Linked DNA regions of Homo sapiens: regions 1, 2, 3 and 5 are each linked to region 4. Evidence: promoter capture Hi-C in human tissues and cell types (Jung and others, 2019). All regions are on one chromosome and are shown on one strand. Each heading gives the region's core, a stretch centred on a gene start or on the middle of the fragment in contact. The rest is flanking DNA. Distances are from core to core; before and after follow the strand shown.

Evidence for each region. The method cuts DNA at HindIII sites, captures the fragments that hold promoters and counts their contacts. A contact is called where the count stands out against the background at its distance.
Region 1: a contact is called between a fragment that was not itself captured here and the fragment with the promoter of C21orf91 in region 4, in 4 of the 25 tissues and cell types used here (dorsolateral prefrontal cortex, hippocampus, mesenchymal stem cells and 1 more).
Region 2: a fragment that was not itself captured here is called in contact with the fragment with the promoter of C21orf91 in region 4 in 1 of the 25 tissues and cell types used here (pancreas).
Region 3: a contact is called between a fragment that was not itself captured here and the fragment with the promoter of C21orf91 in region 4, in 2 of the 25 tissues and cell types used here (H1 embryonic stem cells and lymphoblastoid cells).
Region 5: a fragment that was not itself captured here is called in contact with the fragment with the promoter of C21orf91 in region 4 in 2 of the 25 tissues and cell types used here (mesenchymal stem cells and pancreas).

What each region holds. Positions count from the first base shown.
Region 1 is chr21:17,673,746-17,676,445 of GRCh38, reverse strand. LOC124904999 (a long non-coding RNA gene) reads left to right here and starts at 2,027. Exons shown (of 2, transcript XR_007067821.1): 1 at 2,027-2,090. The HindIII fragment of the contact is 4,548 bases long and covers 1-2,700 here.
Region 2 is chr21:17,580,582-17,583,281 of GRCh38, reverse strand. It overlaps a transcript of CXADR not described here. Among named protein-coding and RNA genes, the nearest start is that of BTG3-AS1, 30 kb to the left of the region's middle. The HindIII fragment of the contact is 6,058 bases long and covers 1-2,700 here.
Region 3 is chr21:17,636,551-17,639,250 of GRCh38, reverse strand. No RefSeq gene overlaps it. Among named protein-coding and RNA genes, the nearest start is that of BTG3, 25 kb to the right of the region's middle. The HindIII fragment of the contact is 6,299 bases long and covers 1-2,700 here.
Region 4 is chr21:17,817,955-17,820,654 of GRCh38, reverse strand. C21orf91 (chromosome 21 open reading frame 91) reads left to right here and starts at 1,299. Exons shown (of 5, transcript NM_001100420.2): 1 at 1,299-1,352; 2 at 2,330-2,463. The coding sequence starts at 2,337. The region is part of intron 2 of LOC124900465 (a long non-coding RNA gene); the gene reads right to left. RefSeq lists an enhancer at 605-654 and a silencer at 905-1,684. The HindIII fragment of the contact is 15,791 bases long and covers 1-2,700 here.
Region 5 is chr21:17,653,170-17,655,869 of GRCh38, reverse strand. No RefSeq gene overlaps it. Among named protein-coding and RNA genes, the nearest start is that of BTG3, 42 kb to the right of the region's middle. The HindIII fragment of the contact is 5,313 bases long and covers 1-2,700 here.

The DNA of each region.
Region 1 (2,700 bases), core at 81-2,580, 140 kb after region 4:
GAAGAGTTTAACAAATGTTACAATCAGTATTACTTTCTGATTTCTGAATATAACACTTTATTTTCGTCATATCTATCTCTCCTTTCCTTTTTTCACTGTCTACTTTTCTAGTGTACTTTTGGTCTGCTTTTATTAATTTTTTGTTTGTGTTCCCCTTTGCTCACTCCATGGCAATGAAAAAGTTAGATTTTAAAGTACGGGTTCTTAGTTCAGGACCCTGCATTCGAATGGATTTATTGCTATTTCTAACACAGAAAACTGCATTGTAGGACTGTTCCCAGATGTAACTGACTATCAGGCTGCTATTTCTCGTGGCCCAATAACGAGATGCAGATGAACTGGGGAGAAAGAGAGTTTTTATTTCTGCAGCCGTTTACAGGGAGAAGGCCTGGAAATTATCACCAGACCAACTCAAAATCACAAAGTTTTCCAGCGCTTATATACCTTGTAAGCTATATGTCTACATGTAAGTGTGCATTCATCTAAAGACACATGTGATTAACTTTTTTTCCTTTTTTTTTTTTTTTTTTTTTGAGGCAGAATCTCACTACTCTGTCACCCAGGCAGGAATGCAGTGGTGAAATCTTGGCTCACTGCAATCTCTGCCTCCCGGGTTCTAAGCGATTCTCCTGGCTCAGCCTCCTGAGTAGCTGGGATTACAGGCACCTGCCACCACACCCAGCTAATTTTTGTATTTTTAGTAGAGATGGGGTTTCACCACGTTGGCCAGGCTGTCTCGAACTCCTGACCTCAGGCAATCCACCTGCCTCAGCCTCCCAAAGTGCTGAGATTACAGGCTTGAGCCACCATGCCTGGCCATGATTAACTTCTTTTAATCTATAACTAAGGTCTGAGTCCTGAGACCTTCCCCTGGAACCTCAATAAATTTACTTGATCTAAATGGGTCCAGGTGCTGGGGTGATTACCCTTATCTTGTCTCCTGCTAAATCATGGAGGTTTGGGGAGTTCCTTCAGAACCCCAATAAGCTTCTTTGTGAAGCCTGGGGAGTTTCTTCAGACTCCCAATAAAACTTGTTTAATCCTAAATGGGTCCCGTTAAGGATTCCTTCGTTATTTTGTTATGCTTTAAGGCTCAGGAAAAGCCTAGGCAAAACTCTTGGTGGGCTTTTGTTACATTCCAGTCTTTGTATAAGGGCACTGGCTTTTAAAACTTAGCCAGTCAGTCAGTACCGAAGCAGGTGTTATGGAAGACTGCATTAGTGAGACCTGGCCTGCCACAGGACCAATACCTGGAAATAGTGGGGTATTTTTGTGCTCCTCAGGTATGCGTTTTTGGACATCCTTTTATTGGAGAGCTGAAAGAGAAGGCTACCATCTTTGGACGCCCTTTTACTGGAGAGCTGAAAGAGAAGGCTACTGAGAAGATATTTTTAAAGTATGTATATAAGTATACTTACATGATGTATGTATGAGGTTTAATGCAAAAGTTAATTGCGGTTTTGCCATTAAAGTGATGCAAAAACCTCAATTACTTTTGCACGAACCTAGTAAGTACTTACTCTGTTTTTCCAGTGGTCAGAAGAGTCTTTCATTTGGAAGTTTCTAATGCAAGCTAATTTTGTGAGAAAAAACTCTCACATCATGTATCTGCCCATTTTAGAGGAAGGATAAGCATATGGTACAACATCAGTGGATGGAACAGAAGCCGCAACTAGTTGAGGGTATTTCCTTGCCTACAGCTCCATCAAGCATTAAGAGAGACTTTCCAGGCCAGCTCCAGATGAAAAGTGCTTATTTCAGAATCTTTATTTTGGGGGTCTGTGCCATTATGTCAAGATTCTAAAACTCAAAATTGGAGCCTGAAAATTCTTCTTGGTTCTTCTTGTACAATTTATATTTTAGTTGTAACTCAGCCCAAAATCTGCTGGGGTTGTGGGGGAGATGTTTTTTCAAGCAAGTAACTCCAGATAATATTTAATAAATAGATTTTTGCCTATTCCTTCCCTGGTCGCCACGGTTGTTGTCTGTTACCTAGGAATTAAATGTTGAATGGCAAGGTAGGATCACTATAGTAACTCGAAGGGCATTGGAGCAATGAGAACGTGGGAAGATGTTAAATTTAGATCAGAGTGAGTATATGTCACATTATCAATCCTATTCCTGTAGGAGCTAATTTTCTTCAACAGATCTTCCTTATACAACACATAAAAGGCCCTTTTCTCTCCTTTGTGTCAACTGTCAAAACTGTTCAAATTAGCAAGCTTGATGTTTTTGCTGTTTTCAGAAATAATTGTTTTGTTTCTCTTTTTTCAAAATGTAACTTAGAATAACCATGTTCCTATGCTATTTAGCTCTTGCTGAATGATAAATAGTACAAATGTCTACTGTCTTTTGGAAACATACTTTCAAAGAATTCTTTTTGTATTTTTTAAATATCAGAAATACAGCATCTGACCTGCATTCTGACTTTGCTGTGAATCATTAAAGTTGGAATGTTTTTGAATTTTAGTACATTTTGTGGCATTAACTTTCCTACCCACAAACGAAGAGCCTTCAAACTACCTAGATGAGATCAAACGTCGATGACATTTATATTTTTCTAGGAGTCAGGAAGAAAAATATAATCCCACAACGTTAAATGCCTTTCAAGGAAAAAAAGTGAGCACGTGGCTGGATGTTTGACGTGAAAGACAGAAAAATCTTCTGTCTCTGTTTAGTGTTCCCAAACGTCAGGCATTC
Region 2 (2,700 bases), core at 47-2,546, 240 kb after region 4:
CCAAATCTATATATACATACATTCATAAAGCTCTCCTGGTCTACTATATAGCACATCTTTATCATGTCCCGAACACAGCAGATAGTATCTTTTACTTGAGAAGGCAGAGATTATGGTTCCTCTCATGTAATTGTTTAATTTTACTTTGTGTTCTCTCGTTTCTGTGAACACATAAAATGTCCCCTCCTTGTCAGATTAAAAGACTGGTGAATGTTAGAGGACTATGATTTCCCAACAGGTTGCAAATTGCAGTCACTGATATCTTTTCTATCACGTTCTCTCCTCCCAGAATCGCAAGGTCATTCTCCTGTTCCCAAAAAATTATCTCATTGTTGACAGTTCTGGGACTATGTGAGAAGATGTCTTACTTAGAAACATTAAAAGAGCACAGTGCCAGCAGCCAACATTGAACTTGGGATAGTGTGTGACAGCTGACCTAAGATGTAACCTAGACACATCTTTTCAAATGCAAGATAACTCACTTTCTTCATTAGTTTGTGCTGATTCCATAAAACTGCTCTTGGCAAAAATTCCGACAACTTGAAGAAACCAAAGATAAATCAAGGAGACACACTGTTATGGCGATACATGCAGCAATGGCTTGATATGAACACAGCCAGAGCTGCTACAATTATTATCATCAGCAAAGATTACTGAGAGTTTATGTGTTGAACAGTTAGATGTAAAGATGTTTCTGCCTTTCAGAACTCTGACATCTGCTTAGAGATAGGAGATAAACACATGAAAAGACAGGTGACCCTGAGCTCCCAGTGAGGGTACAATTTCAAGGAGGGAGAGATAAGTCAGTGTTGAACCAGAATGGTTTGGAAATGGCTTCTCTGTGGGACTTAGGAAGGATTAAGATTACATAGCCATAAAAGGGCAAATACAAACAGTCAGATAACTTGAGGGGAAAAGTTGCGGGTCAAATCACAAAGAACTAATATTATTAATATTTAAAAGCTCCTCCAGCGGGCTGCGGTGGCTCATGCCTGTAATCCTAGCACTTTGGGAGGCCAAGGCGGGTGCATCACCTGCGGTTAGCAGTTCGAGACCAGCCTGGCCTACATGGTGAAACCTTGTCTCTGCTAAAAATACAAAAATTACCTGGGTGTGTTCGGCTAGACCCAGGAATTCAGGGAGACCTAGATTCCCACTCCTAGCTATGTGGCCTTAGGAAATGTGTGGCAGGTGCCTGTAATCCCAGCCACTCAGGAGGCTGAGACAAGGAGAATCACTTGAACCCGGGAGGGCAGAGGTTTGCAGTGAGCCGAGATTGTGCCACTGCACTCCAGCCTGGGCAACGAAGAGTGAAACGCCGTCAAAACAAACAAAACAAACAAACAAACAAACAAACAAACTCCTCCCAAATTAGCCAGACTACTAGTACAAAGGAAAAATGGAATTCTCAAAAATATAATTTTTTTTTTTTTTGAGACAGAGTCTTAGCCTTTGTCACCCCAGGCTGGAGTTGCAGTGTTGTCAGAGCTCACTGCAAGCCTCAATCTTCTTGGGCTCAAGTGATCCTCCCACCTCAGCCTCCTGAGTAGCTGGGACTACAGGCACATGCCACCACATCCAGCTAATTTTTTATTTTTTGTGGAGATAGGGTCTCAACTATGTTGGCCCTGGCTGGTCTTGAACTCCTGGCCTCAAGTGATCCTCCTACCTCAGCCTCCCAAAGTGCTGAGATTACCGGTGTGAGCCACCGTGTCTGGTCCTACAAATGTTTTTAAACAAAGAAAAAGATGCTCAACTGAGCAAATTGAAAGAGAGGTAGACTTTTAAACCATGTGATAATTTTCTCCTGAGGTCAGGAAAGATCAAGAAGTTGGATAAAAGTATGGTGAAGATTTTCAGGGGATAAACACTCTCATATATTGAAAGCATAAGCTGCCACAACACTTAGGATGCTGTTTTAATAGTATCTATCAAAATATTCTTTACTCATTTGCTCCTTTTAGAAATTTATTTTAAAGATATATTTATACATACACAAAATGACATATATACATATATATTGATTGTAATTTTACTTGTTATACCAAAAGGATGGGATTAATTTAAATGACCATCAATTGGAAACTGATTATATACGTTATAGTGTATCACTTTGATGTAACACTATACAGTTTTGGGAGAAAAAAAGCTTGCTTTGTACCAAAGATAATAGATACAAAGGGAAATACAGAATGACCTGAGAGCAATTGTTAAATTAAAAACAAGTTTGTGACCTAGCAAGATGGTTCATGCCTATAATCCCAGCTCTTTGGGAGGCTAAGGCAGGAGGATCACTTGAGCCCAAGAGTTTGAGACCAGCCTGGACAACATAGTGAGACCTCCTCCCTACAAAAGAATTAAAGATTGGCCAGGTGTACTGGTGCGTGCCCATAGTTACAGTCACTTGGGAGGATGAGGTGGGAGGACTGCTTGAGCCCTGGAGGTTGAGGCTGCAGTGAGCCATGATCACCCCTCTGCACTCCAGCCTGGGTGACAGAGCAAGACTCTGTCTCAAAAAAGAAACATTGTATTAACTTTTATTTTTTAAAAAATACATGTATATGCCAGTATAAGGATAGAGTAAGTATAATAGTGCAGGGTCAGATGTAAAAGTCTGAAGCCACTAAACCTATGGTTTAGACTTTAATCTTTATTTATGTATTTTTGGTTTTGAGACAAGGCCTCACTCTGTCACCCAGG
Region 3 (2,700 bases), core at 42-2,541, 180 kb after region 4:
GTTTGTGTAGTGCTTTATAGTTTGCAAAGTACTTTCACATGATCATCTTATTTAACTCTCACCAAAAACTATGAACATGATGTTATTTATATTCTCATCTTTCAAATTGTATTTATTTTTTACTTTTTGTGAGAAAGGGGCTCACTCTGTTGCCTGGGCTGGTCTTAAAATCCTAGCCTCAAGCAGTCCTCCCATGTCAGCCTCCCAAAGTGTTGGGATCACAGTTGTGAGCCATTGCACTCAGCTTCCATTTTATAAATAAGTAAAATGATATTCTAGGTATATATACGATTTGTTCAAGACCAACATCTGACTCCTTACACTTTGCCTGTGCAGCTTTAGCTTTCTAAAGCACAGATGGAGTCTCCTCTTCACAAAACAATGTTAATGTCTTCTAATTACCTACAGAATGATGCAACCTACCTTTCCAGTTTTAAATCCTCCACAACCTATTCTACAATTACTCACTATTCTTAGACTGTACAAGTGCTTTCTCAACTCTATTTCTGTTCACACTCTTCCCACCACCTGTAATACCCTTTTTTTCAATCACCATCTGACAAAATGTATGCATATGCATCACTCAAGGCCCTGCTCAAGTGGCCTTGCCTTCATGGAGTCCTTTCTCAATTAACTATGACACACTCAACCGATGCATCCTTTCCCTCTTTTGCTAAATCATCCAGAGCAGGGCAAATACGAATATTGCTTCTGGAGTCCGAGAACCTGGATTCCAGTGTGGCTGTGCCATTTCTGAGCCTTGGGCTTCAGTTCCTATTGATAATAACAGTATCTAGTTCATCAGATTATGATGACATGCCAAACATACTACTAACAGATATACAATAGTGACCAAACTGGCAAGGTTTCTGTGGCTGTGAAACTTTATATCACAGGGGGAAATAAACAATAAATTAGTAAACATAAACGTTGATATGTAATGTCTTAGCTGGTCATCTATTAAAAGGTCCCCTGAGAAGTGAGGAACGAGCAGGGGCTGGCCCATTCAATGTGCTGGAGGAAATGTCCCAGGAGGAGCAAAGAGCATGTGCAAAGCAGTAGAGCAAAAGAGGCAGATATGTTTGTGGATCTGACATGTCCAGTAACAGAAGCACAGCAAGGAGAGGGCAGAATAAAATGAGATGAAATTGGAGTGATAAACCAGGCCTCATAAACTGCAGCAAAAAAAAAAAAAAATTGTATTTGATTTATTTCTTTTTAGTTATTTATTTATTTTTGAAACAGGTTCTCGCTCTGTCGTCTAGGCTGGAGTGCAGTGGTGAGATCTCGCTCAGCTCACTGCAACCTCCACCTCCAGGTTCAAGCAATTCTCCCACCTCAGCCTCCTGAGTTGCTGAGTTGCTCGAACTACAGATTGTGCCACCACACCCGGTTAAATTTTGTGTTTTTTAGTAGAGACAGGGTTTCACCGTGTTGGCCAGGCTGTTTTGGAACTCCTGACCTCAGGTATCAATCCACCCACCTTGGCCCCCCAAAGTGTTGGGATTACAGGCGCGAGTCACCACGCCTGGCTGTATTTGATTTATAATGAGAAGTATTGAAACATTTTAAGTGAGCAAACAACATGGCCCAATTTTTCTTTTTAAAAAAATTATCTGGGAAAAGGGAAGGAAGGGAGGAAGAAAGGAAAGGAGGAAGGAAGGAAGGAAGGAAGGGAAGGAGGGAGGGAGGGAGGGAGGGAAAAAGAGTGTTTTGGCTAACATTTGTAGAAGTGAAACAACCTTGTTCAGACATTAGCGCATGGGCATGTAAGCACTTTCGGGCAAATTGTATCTGGCATTCTACTGTCAAGAAGTGGGGTCTGGCCGGGGACAGTTGCTCAGGCCTGTAATCCCAGCCTTCAGGGAGGACCAGGCAGGTAGATCACCTGAGGTCAGAAGTTTGGGACCAGCCTGGCCAACATGGTGAAACCCTGTCTCTACTAAAAATACAAAAGAAAAAAACAAAAACAAATTAGCCTGGCGTGGTGGCAGGAGCCTGTAATCCCAGCTACCCGGGAGGCTGAGGCAGGAGAACCTGGGAGGTGGAGGTTGCATTGAGCCGAGATCGCACCACTGCACTCCAGCCTGGGTGACAAAGTGAGACTTGTCTCAAAAAAAAAAAAAAAAAAAAGCGATAGGAGACTTAAAGAAAAAAATGTGGGGTCAGGTCCTCTCCCCTTGAATAGAGAGGTAAGCCTATGACTACAGCAATAGTAACACCATGTGATATCCAAGGCTGAGTCATAAAAAGCAGCTCAGCCACCATTCTGTGCAGATGCCAAGCAGCTGCATAGAGGAGCCAGTGAAGGTGTTCCAGGCACTGTCCCAGTGGAGCCATCAGCTAACAGCCAAAATCAACTCCCAGACATGTGAGGAAGCAAGATTTCAGATTATTCCAGCCTTAGTCCTTGAGCCACTGCAGCTGATCCCTGTCGCAATCCAGACCTGAGCGTATTAAATGTCGTCGTTGTTTAAGTCACTAGACTTTGCCATGTTTTGTTGCACAGCATTAGATAAATGAAACAGCAACTGTTAGTATCAATATCATGTCTGCTAATTACCCAATAACCTCTCTCCTACCTTCTAAACCTCGATTTTCTTTGACGCAGCAAAATACCCAGTTACAAAAACTTATTTCCCCAGATACCTCCCAACGTGACGTTAGTTGACATGTAATTCATTTCTGATTAATGAAATG
Region 4 (2,700 bases), core at 50-2,549:
GAATCCAACATGCAAGGTATCTTAGTCGTAGTTACCTAGAATGAGAAATTCGAAGAGAAAAAGCACAGGCTTTTCATTTCAATTAGTGCATCTCAAACTTCGATGAACATAGGAATCTCCTGGCGGTCTTGTTAAAGTGCAAGTATTGATTTAGGAAATCTCGAGTGGGGCCTGAGATTCTACATTTCTAACAGGAAACCAAGTAATGTCAATGTTGTTTGTTCATCTACTACAATTTAGGTGGCAAGGACACAGATCGCTCCTGCGAGGCACAAATGCCATAACTGGAGTGCTAATTTGGCCCAGAAGTTTCCAAGATCTAGACAGTCCATTCCTAACCATCAGTTCAAGAATGCCTACATGTAGATTGACAGGCTAGCCCTCTTTCTATGTGAGTGCAACCAGAACACATACATATGATGCTGTAGAAAATAACATTGATCTTAGGTCAGTAGCCTTCGGTTCAAGTCCCAGCCTTTTTCTAACCAACTGTGATAACCTGGGTCAATTACTCGTAGGCTGCAACATGAGAGAACAGTTCCTGTTTCTCCTCTGTAGGTTACTGTGAGGACTACAATGGAAAATGTAAGTGAAAGTACTGCAAGAACCATACCCTAAAAAAAACAGAATAGCTTAAACAAAAGTCAAGCAAAGAATTTGAGAACCAAGCAGGACCTAAAAATAAGAGGTGGGGCTTCGGGATTTTTCCCGTGGGCGTTGAGGGATGTACCATATTGGGGGCAGGGGCGCCCCACAACAAATAATGTATTTGAAAAGATTCTGTATTTGAAATTATGCCTCTATCATGACACCTGAATATGAACTTTTCCTTCGTTAGATACTTCAACTGGCACTTAACTATAAGTTCAGTGACAGTATTCTGCTTCTTTCTCCTGAAGTCAAAGTGCCACCCACGCACCTCTCCCGTTCTGCCATCCACCCGCGGCTTTCCTACCCCCGCCGCCTGCGGCCCCCGCCCCGGGGCAGTAGTTTGCACTAGGCTGAAGGGAGAGGTGGAACGGATTCGTCTATCTACGCACCTCGAGGAGGGGTGTGTGAGGAGCTACGTTCCAGAGAACGGTAAGAAACTCCGGCCAGGAAACACGGGATCACAGGAGAACTCGAGGCGAAGGTGCGGCGTCGGTGCAGGAGCGGAGGGGCGGACCCACAGCAGCCCGGCGAGCGCGCAGGTGTGCCCGCGGCCGCGCCACCCTCCCCGCAGCCTTTACGGGATGGAGCCGGCGGGAGAGGGCGGGGCCAGGCGCGCGGCGGCCGCCTCTGCTGCGGCCGGAAACAATAGTGGAGGAACCCGAGCCGCACGGAACGGCGGTGGTGGCCCGCGGAGCCGGACGGTAAAGACCCCGCAGCCCTGCTCCCATCCCACCTGAGCCCCGACCCCCAGTCCCATCGTTCCGCCTCCTTCGAGTTCCGAGCCCCGTGGCCCCTCGCGCTGCTGCGCGCCAGGCGCCCCGACGGACAGACCGACGGAAAGACGGACTTGGGTCCGCGACTCCCTGGGGGCGGCCGCGCGCCCCCAACGCCGAAGGCCGGGCCAGGACCCGGCTCCCCGAGACGCTGAGGCTGGGCGGACCGGCCGCCGTGGCCCTCGGACGCTTTCTTCCCTCTGGGAGGAATCCCGGAGCGATGGGACGAGGCTCTCCCGCCCGCCGGGCTCCAGGATGCCGCGGCTCTCCCAGCTCCGGCTTGGGCCCCTCCGGCGGTGCCCGGCCGGTACCGTGAAGCCGCCGCTCGGCCTTCGGTGTAGTTGCCCCGGACACGGCGGGACGCCCTCCCCGGGTATTCGGTACCCACGTGCATTTTGCTGCCGCCGATCTCCGTTCGATGCGAAGCTTCGCAACTCCGAGTTCGCGAGGCGCATCTGAGGTTCCCCCAATGAAGTTAGCAAAGCAGTGTCCCGTGCAGGTCGTTTTTCCTGTTTCTCACAGCGTTAACTAGGTTGACAGAACCTGGTAGCTGAAAAGGCCTCGCTGCTAAGCCCTCTGATTATTCGAGGTTGGGGGACGAAGGAGGAGGACTAGAATGCCGGCAAATCTCTTTCCTTCAGGTGCCACTAACCCAATCAACTATAGGACAAAAAAGACACGGACATAGTGTCACCTATGGCCTGGCTTTAAGTTTTACTAGCTTTGTGTCTTTCCACAGGAAAAGTGCAATGTTGGAGTGCAAGTATGGCGATGCTTGTTTGATGGAGCTTTTGCTTTAAATGAGCTGAACAGCATCCTTATTTCCTAGAAGTTCCCAGTAAAGGGAACTACCCCAAAGGCAGGTTCATGAAATTGTGTAACTTTCCTTTTCTGTTTCTTAATAGGGGCACTATGAACGAAGAGGAGCAGTTTGTAAACATTGATTTGAATGATGACAACATTTGCAGTGTTTGTAAACTGGGAACAGACAAAGAAACACTCTCCTTCTGCCACATTTGTTTTGAGCTAAATATTGAGGGTAAGGACACAGTATAGTTTTGATCTTATGGAATGAATTTAACACAGCTGCTTTGTACTGATTGTAAGGTAAAACTAAAATGTCTTCAATGATTGGAAATTGTGCTAAGTATGAATAGTGTAGAGATTTGTTAAAGATAAGGTTTCTGGAAATGAAGGTGCAGTTAACAGAGTTACGAATTTAAGAGAAATCTTTTTTTTTTAAAGACCCCTGCAACAACCCCATTTTTCCTAATAC
Region 5 (2,700 bases), core at 97-2,596, 160 kb after region 4:
TACTTCCTTTCATTCCTGCGCTGAAACTTTTTAATAAACTTTCACTCCTGCTCTAAAAGTTGCCTCAGTCTCTCAGTCTATCTTATGCCCCTTAGCCAAATTCTTTCCTCAGAGGAGGCAAGAATTGAGTCACTGCACACCTGTACAGATTTGCCACTGCTAACAATATTACATGACACTGACCTACACAGATATCCCCACAACAAAGTTCACAATCTCCACGTACACACTCTAAGTGAGCCATATTCTTAAATATATGCAAACAATGAAGGATCACTAGATACTTAAGACATCTAATACAAAAAATAGAAAACAAAGTTAAAGTGTAAGCAAACCAAAAGAACCAGAGATGACACAGAGGGAAGAAAATGTATTATCATTAATATCCTCAGGGAACTATGAGAAGATATTGTTTCCATGAAACAAGTATAGCCTGCCATAAGAAAAGGAATATCCAATAAATAAAAATATAAAAGATTAGATTCTTTAAAAATATAATGGTGAGACTAGAACGTGCTGAGTGAAAAGAAAAATATACGTAATGGCATAAATGACAAACTCAATAGAAGTTTCACAAAATAAAATTGGAGAAATCTTCCAGAAAGCAGAACCAAAAATAAAAAAGAGAAGAAAAAAATCAGAAACTTAGAGGACAAGTTCATAAGTTCAATATTCAAATAAGAGTTCTCAAGAAATAGAACAGAGAAAATAAGGCTGAGAAAATTATTTAAGAAGTATTTCAAGTGAGTTTCTCAGAACAGAATGACCTAAGTATTCTGATTAAAAGAGAATTCATAGTGTGCAGATGATGGCTAAGAGTAAACCATACTGAAGTCACATCATCACAAAGTCTTAAAACTGGGGACAAAGGCAAGCTTCCAAAGAGGAGGGGAAATGGTCACCTAAAAAGACCAAGAATCTGAATAGCCTTGGATTTTTCAGCAGCACACTGGAAGTTAGAAAAGCAACATCTTAAAAATTCTGAAAGAAAGCATTTCTCAATATAGACATCTGTATCTAGCCAAGCTATCAATTGAGTATGAGAGAAGAATAAGAATGTTTTCAGACATTCAGGTATCAAGAATTTTACATCACCTGCACCCTCTCTAAGATAACCACCTGGAGAATGTGCTTAAGTAAAGTCAGTGGGTAAACCAAGAAAAATGAAGACATGAAACCCTGGGGACAGGGGAGAGAGGTGAATGAAATGGCAGGAGTGTGGTCATAGTCAATTCCATGAATACAGCTGTGTGACCAGCTCTGAGATCAGCCTTTCCAGATTAAAACAAATTATCATCTTCGAGAAGGAGTGCATCAGGGGTATGCAACACCAGGAGAGATTTAGGCAATTGGCAGAAAGTATGAATTAGGATTATATAGAAAACTAATATAAAAATATTTAAGGACAGCTATTTAATTTAGAGAAAACCAGGCTTTAAATAGGAAAAACAATCATATTTGTATAAATCATTGTATTCTACAAGGCATAGTTGTGAATAGCATTTGCATCATCATCATCATCATACAATAATTTGTTACAACTTAAATAATAATATAACCACCTTAGAAAGATGGGGAGCAAAGAAGAATTCATGTGATGGGATGGGGGTGGAGTATAGATATGAGAAGTAAAGAGGAGTCACCATTTTCCAAAATGGGAAGCTATACCACTATTTTGTATCCATAATTAAGAATAAAAAATTTTAACAAAACAAAATGGGATGTAAATATTAATAGATAATGGCTGGGGAAAAACAAGACTGGAAATATTAGCACATTATTTAGAAACATCAAGGTCATATACCTGAGAAAGAAACAAAACAGGTAAGAGTTGAAAGTGGTTGATCCTGAGTAGAAAAAAATGGATCACAGGAGGTAAGGAGTATTTGGAATATTCTGTTGAATTATTTTATTTTTTAAACTTTGTGCACCTATAACTTTGATTTAAAACAAATGAAAAGCTGGGTCTTCATTAAACAGTATAATTCAGGCTGGGCACGGTGGCTCACTCCTATAATCCCAGCACTTTGGGAGGCTGAGGTGGGCGGATCACCTGAGGTCGGGAGTTCGAGACCAGCCTGACCAACATGGAGAAACCCCATCTCTACTAAAAGATACAAAAATTAGCCGGGCGTGGTGGCGCATGCCTGTAATCCAAACTACTCGGGAGGCTGAGGCAGGAGAATCGCTTGAACCCAGGAGGTGGAGGTTGTGGTGAGCAGAGATCACACCACTGCGCTCCAGCCTGGGCAACAAGAGTGAAATCCCCTTAAAAAAAAAAAAAAAAAACCAAAACAGAAAAACAAAAAAGGCAGTATAATTCATGTTAATGTAAAACATGGCTGGGAACATTTGCCTTCTTTAACAAATAGAATAGAGCCAGTCAACCTATATCAAAGTAGTTATTAAAATAAATGTAATGAATATGTCTACAAAGAATAGTTTAGTACTTTATTTTGCAAAAATGCATATATATATTTGATATAATTTAGTTTGAGAAGTTTAGCCAGTTTTTCTCATTTGTTTTACTTTATGGATGTCTATCTGGTTTTTGTTTGTTTTGTCTTTTTTAAATCTTTTTTTATTATACTTTAAGTTCTGGGGCACATGTGCAGAACGTGCAGGTTTGTTACATAGGTATACACATGCCATGGTGATTTGCTGCACCCATCAACCCATCATATACATTAGGTATTTCTC